Linked DNA regions of Homo sapiens: region 2 is linked to region 1. Evidence: promoter capture Hi-C in human tissues and cell types (Jung and others, 2019). All regions are on one chromosome and are shown on one strand. Each heading gives the region's core, a stretch centred on a gene start or on the middle of the fragment in contact. The rest is flanking DNA. Distances are from core to core; before and after follow the strand shown. Region 1 holds the start of NCOR1 (nuclear receptor corepressor 1). Region 2 overlaps LRRC75A (leucine rich repeat containing 75A).

What was found. The method cuts DNA at HindIII sites, captures the fragments that hold promoters and counts their contacts. A contact is called where the count stands out against the background at its distance.
Region 2: a fragment that was not itself captured here is called in contact with the fragment with the promoter of NCOR1 in region 1 in 1 of the 25 tissues and cell types used here (adrenal gland).

What each region holds. Positions count from the first base shown.
Region 1 is chr17:16,212,825-16,216,994 of GRCh38, forward strand. NCOR1 (nuclear receptor corepressor 1) reads right to left here and starts at 2,710. Exons shown (of 46, transcript NM_006311.4): 1 at 2,538-2,710. RefSeq lists enhancers at 1,506-2,422, 2,423-3,338, 2,916-2,975, 4,162-4,170 and a silencer at 2,176-2,645. The HindIII fragment of the contact is 13,683 bases long and covers 2,264-4,170 here.
Region 2 is chr17:16,452,972-16,456,997 of GRCh38, forward strand. All of the region lies in intron 2 of LRRC75A (leucine rich repeat containing 75A), which reads right to left. The region is part of intron 3 of SNHG29 (small nucleolar RNA host gene 29); the gene reads left to right. Among named protein-coding and RNA genes, the nearest start is that of SNORD65, 14 kb to the left of the region's middle. RefSeq lists enhancers at 3,410-3,911, 3,912-4,026. The HindIII fragment of the contact is 8,128 bases long and covers 1-4,026 here.

The sequences.
Region 1 (4,170 bases), core at 1,460-3,959:
ACTTTGGGAGGCTGAGACAGGCAGATCGCTTGAGCCCAGGAGCTCGAGACCAGCCTAGACAACATGGTCAAACCCTTTCTCTACAAACAAAAAAAAAAATTAACCAGGCGTGGTGGCCTGTGCCTGTAGTCCCAGCGACTTGGGAGGCTGAGGTGGAAGGATCACCTGAGTCCAGAGGTCAAGGCTGCAGCGAGCCACTGTATTTCAGCCTGGGCAAAAGAGACCCTGTCTCCAAAAAAAAAAAAAAAAAGCTTTAAAAAAGTTATTAACTAATCTAATCTTTCCTATAAGTTAATTTCCATCATTTCATTCTTTTTTGATTAAGAGGATAGGCAAAACACAAATTTTACTGTTTTTTAAATCCAACAAGTATTCAATTAAAAATAAGCCAGGCACGGTGGCTCACGCCTGTAATCCCAGCACTTTGGGAGGCCAAGGCAGGCGGATCACGAGGTCAGGAGATTGAGACCATCCTGGCTAACACGGTGAAACCCCGTCTCTACTCAAAGTACAAAAAAATTAGCCAGGCATGGTGGCACGCGCCTGTAGTCCCAGCTACTCGGGAGGCTGAGGCAGAAGAATTGCTTGAACCCGGAGGCGGAGGTTGCAATGAGCTGAGATTGCGCCACTGCACTCCAGCCTGGGTGACAGAGCAAGACTGTCTCAAAAAAAAAAAAAAAAAAAAGATAAAATCAGCGAAGGGCCTATCCTGCTCTCAAGAGATAAAATAGGTACATAAATACCTACAAGATAGAAAGTGTAAATGCCGCGAGAGATGTGCAGAAAAAGCATTACAGGAGCCCAGAGGGAGCTGTTACCACCTCACAGAAATATAACCCCTTCAATCTGTTTAAAACAATTTTATAACTATTAACTCCCTTTAGGCTCACAACAGCCAACCCTAGGAGAGTAGATGTTTACCTAATATTCAAGATGAGGAAACTGAAGCACAGAAAGGTTGATCAAGTTCCAAAATCACATAGTTAGAGCAAGAATCAAGATACTTTGTATTATATTTTCTCCGGGGGAGTAGTTCAACATATGGCAAGCCTTTTGTAAAAGGAAAGAGTATTTTAGTATTGTAAGTAATCAGTTCCTACTGTGAGCATTTTATACATAGCTATATCCATATATACAATTAATCTTGATTTCCATTAACAGGTGTGCTTAAAGCAAGGCCAAGCAACTGGGTACTATAAATATTAAAACAAATAAATAAACTTCCACCGGATGTTAACAGAAAAAGAAAAAAAGATACAAGATTTCTCTCTCCAGTAACTTGCGGTTACTTCTTCTGTAATTGTTACCCTTGTCTAAATAACATTCTAAAATTGGTCTGCTCCTGAGCCCGGGCAAGTACAAGTTGGTTCATCCAATAAATATCTTCATGAAAAGGTACATCAAAACATTTTAAAAAGCTATTAAAAATTAAACGATGCCATCAACTCTTCAGTTATCCACAGGACAATCACATGTGACCCAGCATCAGCAGCTATTGATCAAGATATATTGAACGAATGAATGAATCTTTGTAGGCATTTTTAAATCCCGGGCCTGTTGCTCCTTGCACAGTGCCATGTTCAGCCTTCCATCACTGCCTCACCAGGGTGCACACAAGGAATGTAAATTTCAATATAATTAGGATATAATTAGAGAAGCAAATCTGATGCAGGTTTACATACTAATCCCAAAGATTAGAATTACCTATACTACTACTCTCCAAGGTTAACTCTGTGGAAGAGGCACCGCAGCATGCAACATCACATAAAGAAAACTGACACTTCCTGAGCAAATAGTTTTCGTCCATATCACTTATTCCCATCCATTCCTTTAATACATGACTATTCCTGATCCAGTTAATTTGAAGAATTCAGTCTCCTCTCCATAAAGGCTGATTTCACAACTACAGTTTCTCAAATTCCTCTCTCCCCAAAAAGGGGTGCACTTACGGACTTCGCTTAAGAAAACACCAACAATAAACGGCAGAAGGTATAGTGTTCGGATCTTTGCCATCTCCACCAGTACCCAGCCTTCGCCATTACACCCTGAAGCGGTCTGTTAGAAAGGTGAACTAATTTACTCTGCACGCACTTGTCCATGGCTGTCAACCTCCGCAGCCCCTTCTACACTTCCAAGTCGGCCACCAACTCCGCCTCAGTGAGCCCAGGCCCGCCACCTGCGCCGGCCCCACCCGGGGCACCGGCTGCCCGCTCTCCCTCGCAGGCCCTGTAGGCTCCGCACGCCCCTCCGCACAGGACACCTCGGGGCCAGCCCCGGCCCGGCCACAGCCCATTCTTCCTCCAAACTCCATAAGCCTCCGCTAGCCCAGCCCGAGCTCCCCGCCGCGCCCGGCTCTCTCCTGGGCTGCCGAGTGGAAGAGGCCAGGCGGCCAGGACGGGTCCCGACCTGCCCAGGCCTGCGACACCCCCCGCCCGGCGGAGAAACCGTCCCAGCGGCTGCTGCCCCGGGAGCCCTCGGAAGCCCCCGGACTAGCAGGAGCCCGGAGGCCGGGGTTGCAGGCGCCAGGGCCTACTCACCGGGAGCTGGCTAAGCGTGGGAGCCGACGTGCGCCCCGGCCTGAGGAGTGGGACGCGGCCACGGCGCGCGGCCCTACACCGGGACCTCGTTCGGCGCGGCGAGTCGGACGCTCACTCCAGCCGCCGCCGCCGCCGCGGCTGCTGCTTCGCCACCTTGGCCGCCATCTTGACTCAACCCCTCTCCCTCCCCCCAGCCCGCGGAGCCGCGGCTAAGGCGGCTCCAGCGCCGGCTCCTCCTCCTTCCGGAGAGTTGGGAGACCAACTCCCTCCGCTGGCCGGGCGCCTCTCCTACCTCGGCGGAGCTTCCCGGGTCGCGCTGCGCCCGGTCTCTTCATGTCTCCTCTAGGCCTGGCAGCGGCGGTCCTCTCGGACGGATACGGGGCCGAGCAGCGCCCAGCCGGATCCAGCGCTGCTGCCATCGTGCCCTGGGCTTGTGCGCCCCCCGCCTGCCCGTCTGTTCCGCGCGCCCGAGGCCTTCCTCAGGCGTGGGAAAAGGAAAAACTCCAGGCCGTGGAAGGGACCCTGCAAACCCCTCCGCGGCGTGGTGGGGCGGCGGCGGCCTCCTCTGGCCGGAGCTGCGTACAGGGAAGCCGGTCCCCTCGTGGCTGGGAGCTGGAGGGGTGCATTTCGACCTGCCCAAGATACTTTCTAGGGCTCTGGCTGGAATTCGCACCAAGCCCTCACTGAAATGCTGGGCGAGGCCGATTTGTCCACGATGTTGCTCCTTAACCTTAAGTTACTTGCAAGAGGAGCCTGTGGCCCTCGCGACTGTTAAGTGCACGCTCAGCCTCACCCTGCTGGGGAAACGACGGTTCCTCGTAACCGCACGCATACGTTCCTTTAGAAAAGCCAGGCCCGACCGGACGCAGTGGGTCACGCTTGTAATCCCAGCACTTAGGGAGGCCGAGGCGGGCCATCACTTAAGGTCAGGAGTTCGAGACCAGCCTGACGAACATGGAGAAACCCCGTCACTACTAAAAATACAAAAATTAAGCGGGCGTGGTGGCGCGCGCCAGTAATCCCAGCTACTGGGGAGACCGAAGTGGGAGAATTGCTTGAACGCGGGAGGCTGAGGTAGCAGCGAACCTAGGTCGCGCCACTGCACTCCAGCCTGGGCGACGGAGCCAGACCGTTTCAAAAAAAAAAAAGAAAGGGCCGGGCGCGGTGGCTCAGGCCTGTAATCCCAGCACTTTGGGAGGCCGAGGCGAGCGGATCACGAAGTCAGGAGTTCGAGACCAGCCTAGTTAACATGGTGAAACCCCCTCTCTACTAAAAATACAAAAATTAGCTGGGCGTGGTGGCGCGCGCCTATAGTCCCAGCTACTCGGGAGGCTGAGGCAGAAGAGTCGCTTGAACCCGGGAGACAGAGGTTGCAGTGAGCCGAGATCGCTCCACTGCACTCCAGCCTGGGCGACAGAGCCTCTCAAAAAAAAAAAAAAAGGTAAAGAAAGCCATCCAAAAGTGAGAAGGAATAACAAAGTTGGTGTAACTGGCTATTTTGGAAAACTGTCATACGGATAACGGGCTGTCTAACCCTATAATTACGAGAAAGGCCCGAGTTTTAAGAAATGAATTCGAAAATGAAGAGGAAGGAACTCTTCCTATAAGTGGGAGCTTATATATAAGACGCTTC
Region 2 (4,026 bases), core at 1,524-4,023, 240 kb after region 1:
CAGCCTGGGCAGCTGAGCCTTAAAAGAAGAGAATAGAGGCCGGGCGCGGTAGTTCACGCCTGTAATCCCAGCACTTTGGGAGGCCGAGGCAGGCGGATCACAAGGTCAGGAGTTCGACACCAGCCTGTCCAATATGGTGAAACCCCATCTCTACTAAAAATACAAAAATTAGCCAGGCGTAGTCGTGGGTGCCTGTAGTCCCAGCTACTTGGGAGGCTGTGGCAGGAGAATCGCTTGAACCCGGGAGGTGGAGGTTGCAGTGAGCCGAGATCGCGCCACTGAACTCTGGCCTGGGCGCCAGAGTGGGACTGGTGTGGGACTCCTAAACACACACACACACGCACACACGCACACACGCACACGCACACACGCACACGCACACACACACACACGAGAACAGAGGACAAGGGGGCATCACTGCACTGCCATTGCCACAAGGGGGCAGCCACGCACAGGGCCAGGCTCGGGATGGAAGTGTATCTGCCACTACCAGGGAGAACTGAGGAGCCTGCGTCTCCTCACTGGCTAGACAGGAACAATAGATATGGACACCTCATAGAGTTGCCTTGAGAGCACAAGTGAGCTGATGTTCTCTCAGGAGTGAGAGTTCCCTTCTGCTTGTCTGAACTAAACTGACAACAGCTAACATGTATTGAGCAGCTGCGATGCATTGGGCATCTCCTCTGAGCACTGTTTGCATGAACATTTTGGGGCTCAGAACACAATTCCAAAGCATGGCGCCGGGGCCAGCAGAGAGCTTTGAACTAACGGAAATTGGAAGGCCTCAGAAGCAAAGTTTTTCTGCCCTTCTGCTGCCCTCCTGTCTCTGGCCCTTCTTCTCCCCCAGAGTGAGTCAGAGAAACCAGAATTCTTCTTCCCCAAGGCAGGTCACAGAGACCAGAACCCCTCTCCCTCAAAGCAAGCCATAAAACTAGGCAGGTCACTCTCTCCCTTCTGTCTTGAAGACCATTCCAGAGGGGTAGGAAGGAACACTGCAGAGAGAGGCCAAGAAGAATCTGAGCAGATAGCCTTCCTGGGTCCCCTCGGCCTATCACCATTAGATCACACCCTTTGTCCAATCGCATTTCTACAAGCTTGTGCACTCTTTACCAAGCCTGAGTATAAAAACAGATAGCTGGCTGAGTGTGGTGGCTCACGCCTGTAATCCCAGCACTTTGGGAGGCCGAGGTGGGTGGATCACCTGAGGTCAGGAGTTCGAGACTAGCCTGGCCAACACGGCGAAACTCCATCTCTACTAAAAATACAAAAAATTAGCTAGGCATGGTGGCGGGCACCTGTAGTCCCAGCTACTTGGTAGGCTGAGGCAGGAGAGTTGCTTGAACCCAGGAGGTGGAGGGTCCAGTGAGCCGAGATCACGTCATTGCACTCCAGCCTGGGCAACAGAGTGAGACTCTGTCAAAAAACAAACAAACAAACAGGCCAGGCGTGGTGGCTCATGCCTGTAATCCCAGCACTTTGGGAGGCAGAGGGGGGCGGATCACCTGAGGTTGGGAGTTTGAGACCAGCCTGACCAACATGGAGAAACCCCATCTCTACTGAAAATACAAAATTAGCCAGGCATGGTGGTGCATGTCTGTAATCCCAGCTGCTCGGAAGGCTGAGGCAGGAGAATCGCGTGAACCCAGGAGGCAGAGGTTGAGGTGGGCCGAGATCACGCCACTGCACTCCAGCCCGGGCAACAAGAGCAAAATTCCGTTTTAAAATAAATAAATAAATATAATTAAAATAAACAAATTCTAACAAACAAAAAACCAAAAAAACAAAAAAACCTCTTTCCCTGGGGTTTGGGGTCTTCATTTCTTTCTTTTTTTAAAGAGATGGGGGTCTCACTATATTGGCCTTGCTGGTATTGAATTCCTGGACTCATGTAATCCTCCTGTATCAGCCTCCCAGGTAGCTGGGGCTAAGGGTCCTCATTTCTTTTCTTTTCTTTTCTTTTCTTTTTTTTTTTTAGTGACGGAGTCTTGCTCTGTCCCCGCCCTCAGGCTGGAGTACAGTGGCACCATCTCAGCTCATTGCAACCTCCGTCTCCCAGGTTCAAGTGATTCTCCTGGCTTAGCCTCCCGAGTAGCTGGGATTACAGGCGCGTGCCACCACGCCCAGCTAATTTTTGTATTTTTAGTAGAGACAGGGTTTCACTATGTTGGCCAGGTTGGTCTTGAACTCCTGACCTCAGACGATCCGCCTGCCTCGGCCTCCCAAAGTGCTGGTATTACAGGTGTGAGCCACCGTGCCTCACCTGAGCGTCTTCATTTCTGAAAGCTCCCATGTTGCGTAAAATTTTGATTAAACACATTTGTTCTGCTTTTTTGTTACCCTGTGTCTGGTTATAGGAGTGTCAGCCATGACCCTTATAATGAGTGAGGGAAAAGTACCACACAGTTCTGCCCTACAATTTTTTTTTTTAGACGGAGTCTTGCTCTGTCGCCCGGCTGGAGTGCAGTGGCGCAATCTCAGCTCAATGCAACCTCCATCTCCCAGATTCAAGCGGTTCTCTTGCTTCAGCCTCCCGAGTAGCTGGGACTACAGGCACCCGCCATCCATGCCCGGCTAATTTTTTTTGTATTTCTATTAGAGACGGGGTTTCACCATGTTGGTCAGGCTGGTCTCAAATCCTGACCTCAAGTGGTCCACCTGCCTCGACCTCCCTAAGTGCCCTACAAACTATAGTCCCATACCTTACTACAACCCTATGAGACAGGTATTATTAATAACCCCGCTTTACAAATGAGGGAACTGAGGCAAAAAGAACTTAAATAGATGGGCAAGGCCTCCCAGCTTGTAAGACGGAGTCAGGATCTAAAGTCAGCCAGCTCTGAGGCTGATGCTCCTAACCGCTATCTGCTGCCCTCCTTGTGAGAAATCCTGTCTTTGGCTTAGGTCAGTTCAAAGTGTTTCTATCATTTACAACCAGAAAAGCCTTCAGTGAGACTGTCTCATTTTTTCCCAACTCTTCCACTTTTCAAAGAACCCCTCCAGGGCTCCCTCCTGCAGAGAACAGGACTAGGCAGCACTGGCCCAGAAGTGGAGCAGTAAGAAGGTGGGGAACGGGGGGAGGGAGAGGAGGAGAAGGAGGAAGAGGAAGAGGGAGAGGAGGAGGAGGAAGGGGAGGGGGAGGAGGAGGAGTAGCAGTAGTAGGAGGAGGAGGAAGAGGAGGGAGAGGAGGAGGAAGAGGAGGGGTAGGAGGAGGAAGAGGAGGAAGGAGGAGGAAGAGGAGGAGGAAGAGGAGGAAGAAGAGGAGAAAGGAGGAGAAGAAGGAAGAGGATCAGGAAGAGGAGGAGGAGGAAGAGGAGGAGGAAGAGAAGGAAGAGGAGGAGGAGGAAGAGGAGAAGAAGGAAGAGGAGGAGGAAGAGAAGGAAGAGGAGGAGGAAGAGAAGGAAGAGGAGGAGGAAGAGAAGAAGGAAAAGGAGGAAGAGGAGGAGGAGGAAGAGGAGCAGAAGAAGGAAGAGGAGGAGGAAGAGGAAGAAGAGGAGAAGGAGAAAGAAGAGGAGGAGGAAGAGGAAGAGGAGGAGGAAGCTGGACTTGACACTGAGACACACATACCCTAACTCCTCCAGTGGCTGGAACCCTGAGAAGTAACCTGGGAGCCATAGCTAGCCACATTCCCTACCATGCGGCAGGGGGAAGAGCAGTCTGTGCAGAGGGAACACAGAGGGAGGCAGGGTAGAGCAGCGAGGAGGGAAGGAGGGACCTCTGCACCGTGCTTATCTATAGTTCTAGCACCTTGGTCTAACTTGGCTGCCCGTGGGCACCACAAGACACCTCGATATCTGTAGAACACATTTTCTTCCTTGCTGGAGCCAGCCCGCCTGGGCTTCTGTTATGTGCAGCAGAATCCTAACCCGCCCAGAAGGCTCAATGGCTGTGTGCTGAATCAATGCTTTGCAGTCCTCCCCCGATCCCTGAAGATGGCAGGAGTGGGATGTGGCACAGTCAAGTGACTATGAGTGCAGGTCAGGGCAGCAGCCTCTCCAGACCTTCCCAGTGAGGCTGCCCAGGTCCTGG